3 separate regions of the Homo sapiens genome follow, and all the other regions are linked to region 1. The links are contacts of gene promoters, found by promoter capture Hi-C in human tissues and cell types (Jung and others, 2019). All regions are on one chromosome and are shown on one strand. The core of a region is centred on a gene start or on the middle of the fragment in contact, and the rest is flanking DNA. Distances in the headings are between cores, read along the strand shown. Region 1 holds the start of MSH2 (mutS homolog 2). Region 2 has its middle 72 kb from the start of MSH6. Region 3 has its middle 34 kb from the start of MSH6.

What was found. Contacts are between HindIII fragments. The study calls those that stand out against the background at their distance.
Region 2: a contact is called between a fragment that was not itself captured here and the fragment with the promoter of MSH2 in region 1, in 1 of the 25 tissues and cell types used here (aorta).
Region 3: a contact is called between a fragment that was not itself captured here and the fragment with the promoter of MSH2 in region 1, in 1 of the 25 tissues and cell types used here (dorsolateral prefrontal cortex).

What each region holds. Positions count from the first base shown.
Region 1 is chr2:47,401,554-47,405,169 of GRCh38, reverse strand. MSH2 (mutS homolog 2) reads right to left here and starts at 2,014. Exons shown (of 16, transcript NM_000251.3): 1 at 1,768-2,014. The coding sequence starts at 1,978. RefSeq lists enhancers at 1,428-1,487, 854-1,562, 1,563-2,273, 2,278-2,327. The HindIII fragment of the contact is 21,211 bases long and covers 1-3,616 here.
Region 2 is chr2:47,709,638-47,713,295 of GRCh38, reverse strand. It overlaps a transcript of MSH2 not described here. Among named protein-coding and RNA genes, the nearest start is that of MSH6, 72 kb to the left of the region's middle. The HindIII fragment of the contact is 4,436 bases long and covers 1-3,658 here.
Region 3 is chr2:47,747,294-47,750,687 of GRCh38, reverse strand. No RefSeq gene overlaps it. Among named protein-coding and RNA genes, the nearest start is that of MSH6, 34 kb to the left of the region's middle. RefSeq lists a silencer at 2,389-2,542. The HindIII fragment of the contact is 4,372 bases long and covers 1-3,394 here.

The DNA.
Region 1 (3,616 bases), core at 765-3,264:
ATTTTTGTATTTTTAGTGTAGACAGGGTTTCACCATGTTAGCCAGGATGGTCTTGATCTCCTGACCTTGTGATCCGCCCACCTCAGCCTCCCAAAGTGCTGGGATTACAAGCGTGAGTCACTGCGCCCGCCCTGTTTTAAAGTCTTATGTAAAATCTATGTAGGTCAGGTGCAGTGGCTAATACCTGTAATCCCAGCACATCGGGAGGCCAAGGTGGGTGGATCACTTGAGGTCAGGAGTTTGAGACCAGCCTGGCCAACATGGTGAAACCCCATCTCTACTAAAAATACAAAAATTAGCTAGGCGTGGTGGCACGTGCCTGTAATCCCAGCTACTCCGGTGGCTGAGGCAGGAGAATCGCTTGAACCCAGGAGGTGGAGGTTGCAGTGAGCCAGGATTACACCACTGAACTCCAACCTGGGCGACACAGTAAGACTCCGTCTCAGAAAAAAAAAAAAAAAAAACATTTCAGACTTTTCATTGGCTACAGCATAAAATTTCAACAGCTCAACACCACACTAAAAGCCTTTGGTCATCTAACCCCACCCACCTGGGCCAGTCTCCTTCCTTTTCTACACCAGCAACGCCAATCTACCTCGTTTCAAGCCCTCTCCCTAGCAAACTTCTAGTCCACCAAGACTCAACGTGGACTTTGGTGTCTCATATAACGCCTCTTCCGTTGTATGAGACTCTTCCAAAGTCTTCCGTCTTTGGCGATCCTGCCTTGGCGCCTCTTGTAACCTCTTACAAGCTCACCTCCATAAGCCTCCAACTTGAATTGTAATTATTTCTGCCTTGCTGTCCAATAGTGATCTCTATGAAAGTAGAGGTATTTCTTTTTTCATCTAGTGTCCATAACCCTGCCTAACACATTTATATCTAACGAATGAAACATTTTTCATCAGGAGTATCGCATTTGCACTAGTCCTCTAGTCAGGACTAGAATCCACAACTCTGCTCCCCCTAGGATGCTCTTTTCATTAGCATAACTACATAGCTGCAAGAAAGCGCAAAGAAAACAGGGAGAGAAGAGGTTAACTAGGCCTATCCAGAACATTTGGCCCACATAGGGTGAGACGTTTGTAGCTTTCCAGGGAGAGATAATCCTGGATAGATGGGGTCGGGTGACGGAGAGCACTGAATGCTGAGCTGAAGCAGATAGCGTCCATGACTGGCCCAAGGTCACACGTTAATAAGCAGAGGGGCAGCGACTTGATCCCAAGCAGCCCAGCTCCAGAGTCCGTTGGTCCTGACCACTTCATCATACTGCTCTTCAACGGCGCTCCATTACCAGACCCTTAGCTGGACCGGCGGTATAAATGGGAGCGTCGTGGGAGCAGAATTACGTGTCATAAAAGGGTCTCCTAAACCCCCAGTCTATTTTAAATCTCACTCCTGGCTGCTGTTTGTTAATAAGAGATTCTGGCCGTGTTTGTAATGAGCGCTACATGTAGGGCCAAGGCGAGGAATGCGACTGCTGGAAAATGAACTAGAACAATGCATTAAAATGCCTGGCACGACGTAAACACTCCGTGATCACAAGTTCAGATCCGGGGCGGCTGGAGAGGCACGGGTTTCAGGGCTGAGGGGGGCGTCCCTCCGGAGCCAAGCAGAACCTGGGGACGGCGGAATCCGCACAAGCACCAACGTTCCGCCCCCGTGCCTCCGCACTGGAGAGGCTGCTCACCGCCCACTCTCTGAGGCGGGAAAGGAGCCGCGCCACAAGGCCCCGGGTCCCTCCCCAGCACGCGCCGTCCCGGCCCTCACCTGCCGGCCCCATGTACTTGATCACCCCCTGGGTCTTGAACACCTCCCGGGCGGCCAGCAGCGCGTCCTCGCCGTGCGCCGTATAGAAGTCGCCCCGGTCGAAAAGGCGCACTGTGGTGGTCGGCTTCTCCGGCATGCCCTGAAAGAAGCGCACGAAGCCGACCTCGGCCGCGCTCTCCAACTGCAGCGTCTCCTTCGGCTGCACCGCCATGTCGAAACCTCCTCACCTCCTGGTTGAAGAAAATGCGCGACCCCACACCCACTAAGCTGTTTCCCGCCTCCCCTCCCACGTCCCCCGAGCGGCGTCCGGCCACGGCGACCACACCCAATCAGCTTCCAGGGCTGCGTTTCGGTGGGTGGGAGTCTGCCGCGGCAACCAATCATAAGCAGACGCGGCCCAGCTTCCCGCGCACGCTGGTGACTTTAGCTACTGCGCATGCCTGCGCCTAGGTCGCGCGGAAACCCGCAGACGCGCATCCTTAGTAGAGCTCCTTTCTGTGTTTACTCAGCTGCAAGGCTTGAAGCCCCTGGGTGGGGTGTATGCAAGGGTAGGTTGCCACCAGGTGGGAGATTTCCGGCAGGCACTGAGCTCGTAATGTGCCCGGAAGCATGGGAGTAACATCAGAAGGAAACTTGAAAACAAAAAAAAAACTAGCCTTCCTCCTCCTCCCAGTATTTTGTTAAAACGTGTGCCCCTCTCCGACTGCCTCCCTTTTTCTTTCTAAGCAAACTGCCAACATCGGGATTACGGGTTTATTCTACACAGCCTCCTTACTGCTGCCTGTTAGCCACATTATCGTTTCATCCACTCGTTGATGATTCACTCATTCGAAAACATTTATATGGCCTGCTATGTCCCAGACTCTTCTTGGCTCTGAGGATCGCCAGTAAAAAGAAAAATCACTGCCTTTATTCTGCTTACATTCTAATATGAGAAAATTCAGATAATGAATATAGCAAGTAAATGAAATGGTACGTTAGAAGATATGCGTTTGTGGCAGGGCGCGGTAGCTCACGCCTGTAATCCCAGCAATTTGGGAGGCCGAGGTGGGCGGATCACTTGAGCCCAGGAGATTGACACCATCCTGGGCAACATGGTAAAACCCACGTCTGTGATCCCAGATATTAGCAGGGCTGAGGCGAAAGGATCACCTGAGCCCGGGAGGTCGAGGCTGCGGTGAGCCGTAAATTGTGCCACTGCACTCCAGCGTGGGCGACAGATTGAAAACCCTGTCTCAAAAAATACAAAATAAAATAAATAAAAAGACAAACGTTTGACGCCAGGCGTGGTGTCACACGCCATAATCCCAGTACTTTGGGAGCACGAGCCAGGAGGATCGTTTGAGCCCAGGAGGTCTTCTGCCGTCAGCTATGTTCACGCCACTGCACCGCAGCTGGGGCGACAGAGCGAGAGACCCCGTCTTGAGGGGGGGTAGGGGAAGACCAGTTAAGGAAGAGGAAGGTTGAAATTTTAAAATGTTAGCAAACAGCCAGGCGCAGTGGCTCACGCCTGTAATCCCAGCGTATTGGGAGGCCAACGCGGGTGGATCACCTGAGGTCCGGAGTTTGAGACCAGCCTGGCCAACATGGCGAAACCCCGTCTCTACTAAAAATACAAAAATTACCGGGCATAGTGGTGGGCGCCTGTAATCACAGCTACTCGAGAGGCTGAGGCAGGAGAATCTCTTGAACCTGGGAGGTGGAGGGGGCAGTGAGCGAAGATCGCGCCACTACACTCCAGCCTCGGTGACAGAGCGAGACTCTGTCTCAAAAAATAAATAAAATGTTATCAAACACCTGAAGGAGCTCAGGATCCATCCTGCAAAATTAACTCTTAGAAAAGGTTTTT
Region 2 (3,658 bases), core at 484-2,983, 310 kb before region 1:
CTTGGTAGCTAGGACTACAGGCATGCACCCCTATGCCTGGCTATATATTTTTTTTAACCTTTTTTTTTTTTTGAGATGGAGTTTTGCTCTTGTTGCCCAGGCTGGAATGCAATGGCGTGATCTTGTCTCACTGCAATCTCTGCTTCTCGGGTTCCAGCGAGTCTCCAGCCTCAGCCTTCAGCCTCCCGAGTAGCTGGGATTACAAGCATGTGCCACCACATCTGGCTAATTTTGTATTTTTAGTAGAGATGGGGTTTCATCATGTTGGTCAGGCTGGTCTTGAACTCCTGACCTCTTGAACACCTGCCTCGGCCTCCCAAAGTGCTGCGATTATAGGCATGAGCCACCGTGCCCGGCTTTTTTTTACTTTTTACTTTAGAGACAGAATCCCACTGTGTTGTTTGGGCAGGTCTCAAACTCCTGGCCTTGAGTGATCCTCCTGCTTCAGCCTCCCGAGTCACTGAGATTATAGGCGTGTGCCACCCTGCTGGCCTCCAGTGCTTCCATTTTTGCCCGTATGTTTGTTTGCTCTTGTTGCATGACTGACAACCACGTGTCCAATGCACAAAGTTCCTCAGTGAGCTTGCTGGCTCCAGCCTGGTAACCACCTCACTGCAGTCCTTCCAAAGTGGATGCCATGCATCCTAGGCCTCAGGCTGCTCTGCCAGCCAGTGGGCTCATGGTGTCCTGATTCCCTCTGTGTATCCATCTACTAGCCCCGGCCCACCTGCACCCCAAATAGTTGTTCCCCATGACCCTCCTAACATGGATACCATGCAACCTAGGCATCACATGTCCTGCTGCTAAGTTGGTTCCTAATGCCTTGATTCCCTCTGTACTCCCACCCACTAACCTTGGCCCACCTGCACCCTGGAGGCAAGTGCTTCCTATTTGCCCACCAATTGTAGATTAGTTTTGTTTTGTTTTTGAGATGGATTCTTACTCTTTCACCCAGGCTGGAGTGCAGTGGCACGATCTTGGTTCACCCACCTCCTGGGTATAAGCCATTCTCCTGCCTCAGCCTCCCCAATAGCTGGGATTACAGGCACACACCACCACGCCCAGCTAATTTTTATATTTTTAGTAGAGATGGGGTTTCACCATGTTGGCAAGGCTGGTCTCAAACTCCTGACCTTGTGATCTGCCTGCCTTGGCCTCCCAAAGTGCTGGGATTACAGGTGTGAGCCACCGTGCCCGGCTGCTATAGATAAGTTTTGACCTGGGCAACCCAGTGAACTTTTCCATCCTAGAAACTGTTGTGTATATTGTTTTTATGCTTTGCTTTTTAGATTTTCTCATTTTAAAATTTTTATTTTATATATATATATATATGTATTTATTTATTTTTTGAGATAGGGTCTTGCTCTGTCACCTAGGCTGGAGTACAGTGGCACAATCATGTCTCACTACATCCTTGACCTCCTGGGCTCAAACCATCCTCCCACCTCAGCTTCCTGACTAACTGGGACCACATGTGCTTACCACCATGCCCAGCTAATTAAAAAAATTTTTTCTTTTGTAGAGACAGGGTCTCACTATGTTGCCCAGGCTGGTCTTGAACTCCTGGGCTCAAGCTATTCTCCCAAAGTGCTCAGCCTTTGGGCTCAGCCTCCCAAAGTGCTGGGATTACATGCGTGAGCCACCACATCAGGCCTAGGTTTTTTTTAATATACCTGAAATTTTTTTTTTTTTTTTTTTTTGAGACAGGGTTTCACTGTGTTGCCCAGGCTGGAGTGCTGTGGCACAATCTCAACTTAGTGCAACCTCAACCTCCTGGGCTCAAGCAATTCTCCCACCTCAGCCTCCCAAGTAGCTGGGACTACAGGTGCGTGTCACCATGCCCAGCTAATTTTTGTATTTCTTGTAGAGATGGGGTTTTGCCATGTTGGCCAGGCTGGTCTCTAACTCCTGAGCTCAAGTGATCCACCTGCCTCAGCCTCCCAAAGTGCTGGGATTATGGGTGTGAACCACTGCGCCCGGCCTTATATACCTGAATTTATAAAGCAATAATTATTATAATAGGAAGAAACCAGTATCCAGCCCAAATTGTCAGCCAAGAAGTCAGGCAGTTTTTTTGCTTTGTCCTTAAAGATTTAGATGACGAAATGCACAGGGCACGTATGAGGGAAGAGGTGCAGAGCTTCCTCGCCCTCTCTGGCTTGCCACCCTCTAGGAATTCAGCTACCTGGAAGCTCCCATTGCTTTTCTACTTCATATTTCTTGTGCATCATTTCAGATCATAAAATAAGCAATGCCTTATTTTTTTCAACAGTTTCTTGGTATTACTCGGTATAGACAGATCACAGATTATTAATTCAGTCCCCTCTTGCTGGACAACCAGTTTGGTGCAGTGTGCTCTTCCACTACTAAGCCAAGTTGTATTTTGTCTGTTCGAGTCTGTGCTTTTAACTTAACTGTGGAGAACAGGTGCTGCATTTTATTCTTGGTTGTATCTCCAGCACCTGGCCCTGTCCTTGGCATGTTGTAAAAGTAATGAGTTCAATTCCATCCCACAGGGCTGCTCCTACAAGTGCCTGACCCAGGAGGATTTACCAGCCAAGAAGGGCCTCCCCACTGCTTCATCTTTGCCTCCTTCTGGTTCAGGTGGCAGGTGAATCCCTCTGGAGGCAGCTCCCTTCCCACTGATCTCCTGGATTCTCCAGGTCATCATAGAAACGTGGCCTCGGAAGACCCCTCTAGTAGGGGCCACAGTCTCTCCCCAGGGTCCCGACTCGGCTTTTTCCTAAACCCTCCTTTGGGAACCACTGCTCAGAGCATGCTCAGGCCACTGTGTTCTCTTGAGAACTATGTGCTTCTCCCAGCACTGCTTCACAGAAGGAGGAGGAGGCAGTTCATTTTCTCCCTGACTTCAAGCCTCTGGCACAGCCAGACTGCTGGGAAGCATTCACTGAAGCTTCCCAGGCCTTTCTCAGCATGAATATTTTACACCTCTGCAGTAAACTCAATTGTTAAAGCAAGGAATAGAGTAGTCCATGCCACACTGTTGCACACTAGCCAGGAGTTTGGGGATATAAAGACAGTGGGGAAGGATGGGGCTTCTCATCTATTGGGCCTGGTGTAAGTCCCAAGAGCCAGGAGCTCCATTATCCAAGGGCAGGAGAAGATGGATGTCTGAGCCCCAGACAAGAGAGCAAATTCACTTTTTCGCCAACTTTTTGTCTTATTTAGGCTCCCTATGAATTGGATGATGCCTAATCTCATTAGTGAGGACAGATCTTTACTTAGTCTACTGATTAAATGCTCATCTTTCACAGAAATACCTACAGACACATCCAGAAATAATGTTTTACCAGTCATCTGGGCATCCCTCAGCCCAGTCAAGTTGACACCTAAAATTAACCATCAGAATGCCTCATAGAAGATGCTCAATAAGTGGGGAATGAATGAATAGCCCTGTATTCATCTGCTTGGGCTGCTGTCGTGAAACATCATAGACTGGGTGGCTTAATTCTACAGACATTTATTTTAATTTATTTTCCCTCGTTCTGGAGACCAAGCAGTCCAAACCAAGGTGCTGACTGATTTCGTTGCTGTTGAAGGCCGTCTTCCTGCCTTGCAGATGGGCTTTTTTTTTTTTCTTCTGTGTCCTCACGTGGAAGAGAGAGAGAGAGATCGAGAGAGTGCACTCTGGTATCTC
Region 3 (3,394 bases), core at 866-3,365, 350 kb before region 1:
CAACAAGAATAGTAATGGCCATACAGGCTCTTTTAAGTTGGCTTTGCTGGAACTAACTTACCTTACCTTACCTTACCTTACCTTTTTTTACCTTACGATAGGGTCTCACCGTGTTGCCAAGGCTGGAGTGCAGTGGCATGATCTCAGCTCACTCTAGCCTCAACCTCCCGAGCTCAGGCGATCCTATCACCTCAACCTTCTGAGTAGCTGAGATTACAGGCATGCACCAACATGCCCAGCTAATTTTTGTATTTTTTGTAGAGACAGGGTTTTACCATGTTTCCCAGGCTGATCTTGAACTTCTGAGCTCAAGCATTCCTCCTGCCTTGACCTCCCAAAATGCTGCAATTACAAGCATGAGCCATTGCACCCAGCCTGCTAGAACTTTCATAAGGAATTTCAAATTAGACTTTTAAAAGCTTCAAGACTTTGAAGCCAAGCCAAGGATTCACCATTAGACTGAACCTGTAATATATGTACAAATTGGGTGATTTCCTCTTTTCTCCAGGTGTCCATAATATCCTGAGGTTCCTGAGCCTCTCAGAAAGTGACATTCTTGGCCAGGTGTGGTGGCTCATGCCTGTAATCCCAAGATTTTGGGAGGCCAATGTGCGTGGATTGCTTCAGCCTAGGAGTTCAAGACCAGCCTGAGCAACATAGTGAGACCTCTTCTCTACAAAAAAAAATTTTTTTTTTAATTAGTTGGGCATGGTGGTGCATGCCTGTAGTCCCAGGTACTTGGGAGGTTAAGATGGGAGGATCGCTTGAGCCTAGGAGTTCAAAGCTGCAGTGAGCTATGATGGAGTGCCACTGCACTCCAGCCTGGGTGATAGAATGAGATCCTGTTTCAAAAAAATAATAATCAGAAAAAGAAAGTGACATTCTTTATTTACTTCAAGGCAACCATGTGAACTGTAAATTTAAAGTATGGGGCCAGTTTTTCCAAGGGTGTTTATTGGCTTCCTAATGTCAATCCTAGTTCCTTAAAGCTGTCTGGTCATATCTGAAAATGTGATATTTCAGTCAAACCCTTAATAAAACAACCAGTGTCTCCAACTGTGCTTTGTTACAAGAAGAACAGATTCTTTTTTTTTTTTACAAGAAGAATAGATTCTTATTAAACTTATGCTAATAACTAGATTGCCATAAAATAAGAATACTCATGAATAATTTTTAAACTTTGGAGAAATCAGGTAGAGAGAGACAGGTAAATGTTTCCATTTTGCTAATAAATGTATCTTTTACTCTATGTCTATAAGCTATAAATTACTCAAAAGACAAAAGTTTTATTGATTCTGCAGAACAAAATATAAAAGCAATCAGCAGTGTTTCAAATAAAAAGTCATAAAAGCCATTTTATCCCTTTATCAGATCAGTTCCATATAATTGATTCCTGTTCTGCTTGATGTTGGGTTAGCAATATTCATGAATGATGCATCAGTTTATTAGAATTCTGAAAGTTTTAACTTAATCCAATGATATGATCTCCAAAGTTATCAGAAACTTGTGTTCATGGCTGGGCATGGTGGCTCACGCCTGTAATCCCAGCACTTTGGGAGGCAGAGGCGGGTGGATCACTTGAGGTCAGGAGTTAAAGACCAGCCTGGCCAACATGGTGAAACTTCATCTCTACTAAAAATACAAAAAAAAAAAAAAATTAGCTGGGAGTGGTGGTGTGCACCTGTAATCCCAACAGTCCCCCAAAGTCTTAACTTATTCCAGCATTAGGTCAAAAGACCAAAGTCTAAAATCTCATCTGAGACAAGACAAGTCCCTTCTGCCTATGAGCCTATAAAATCAAAAACAAGTTAGTTACTTCCAAGATACCATGAGGGTACAGGCATTGGATAAATGCTCCCATTCCAAAAGGGAGAAATGGGTCAAAAGAAAGGGGCTACAGGCCTCATGCAAGTTTGAAATCCAGCAGGGTGGTCATTAAATCTTAAAGCTCCAAAATAATCTCTGTTGACTCCATGTCGCACATTCAGGGCATACTGTTGCAAGGGGTGGTATTCCAAAGCCTTGGGCAGTCCTGCTTCTGTGGCTTTCCAGGGCTGCTCTCAAGGGCTGATGTTGAGTGCCTGCAGCTTTTCCAAGTGCAGGGTGCAAGCTGTCAGTGGATCTACCATTCTGGGGTCTGGAGGATATTGGTCCTCTTCTCACAGCTCTACAGGGAAGTGCCCAATGGGGGCTCTGTGAGGGAGCTCTAACCCCCATATTTCCCCACCGCACTGCCCCAGAAGTGGTTCTCCATGAGGGCTCCACCCCTGTGGCAGGCTTCTGAGTGGACATCCAGTCTTTTCCATACATCCTCTGAAATCTAGGCAGAGGCTCCCAAGCCTCAGCTCTTGCACTCTGCACACCTGGATGCTTAACACTCTGTGGAAACCACCAAGGCTTCTGGCTTGCACTCTCTGAAGTAGTAACCCACGCTGTACCTGGGACCTTTTGAGCCAAGGCTGGAACTGGAGTGGTTGGGATGCAGGGAGCTGTGTCCTGAGGCTGTGCAGAGTGATGGGGCCCTGGGCCTGGCCCAGGAAACCATTCTTCCCTTCTAAGTCTCCAGACCTCTGATGAAAAGGGCTGTGGTGAATGTCTGTGAAATGTCTTCAAGGCCCTTTCCCCATTGTCTTCACTATTAGCATTTACCTTCTTTTTAGTTACGCAAAATTTATGCAGCTGGCTTTAATTGCTCCCCGAAGGTGGGCTTTTCTTTCCTTTTCTTTTCTTTTCTTTTTTTTTGAGTTGGAGTCTCTCACTGTCACCCAGGCTGGAGTGCAATGGCACGACCTTGGCTCACTGCAATCTTCACCTCCTCGGTTCAAATGATTCTCCTGCCTCAGCCTCTTGAGGAGCTGGGATTATAGGCATGTGCCACCACACCCAGCTAATTTTTGTATTTTTAGTAGAGACGGGGTTTCATCATGTTGGCCAGGCTGGTCTCGAACTCCTGACCTCATGATCTCCCTGCCTTGGCCTCCCAAAGTGCTGGGATTACAGGCGTGAGCCACCACACCTGGCCAGTGGGCTTTTCTTTTCTACCACATGGCCAGGCTCCAAATTTTTCAAGCTTTTATGCTTTGCTTCCCTTTTACTTTTTATTTATTTAGTTTTGAGACAGGGTCTCTGTCACTCAGGCTAGAGTGCAGTGGCACAATCATTGCCTTGCACAGCCTTGACCTCCTGGGCTCAGCCTTCTGAGTGGCAGAGACTATAGGCGTGTGCCACCACACCTGGCTACTTATTTATTTATTTATTTTATAGAGACAGGGTTTGTCCATGTTGCCCAGGCTAGTCTTGAACTCCTGGGCTCAAGTGATCTGTCTGCCTTGGCCTCCCAAAATTCTAGGATTACACGCATGAGCCACTGTGCCCATCCTGCTTCCCTTTTCAA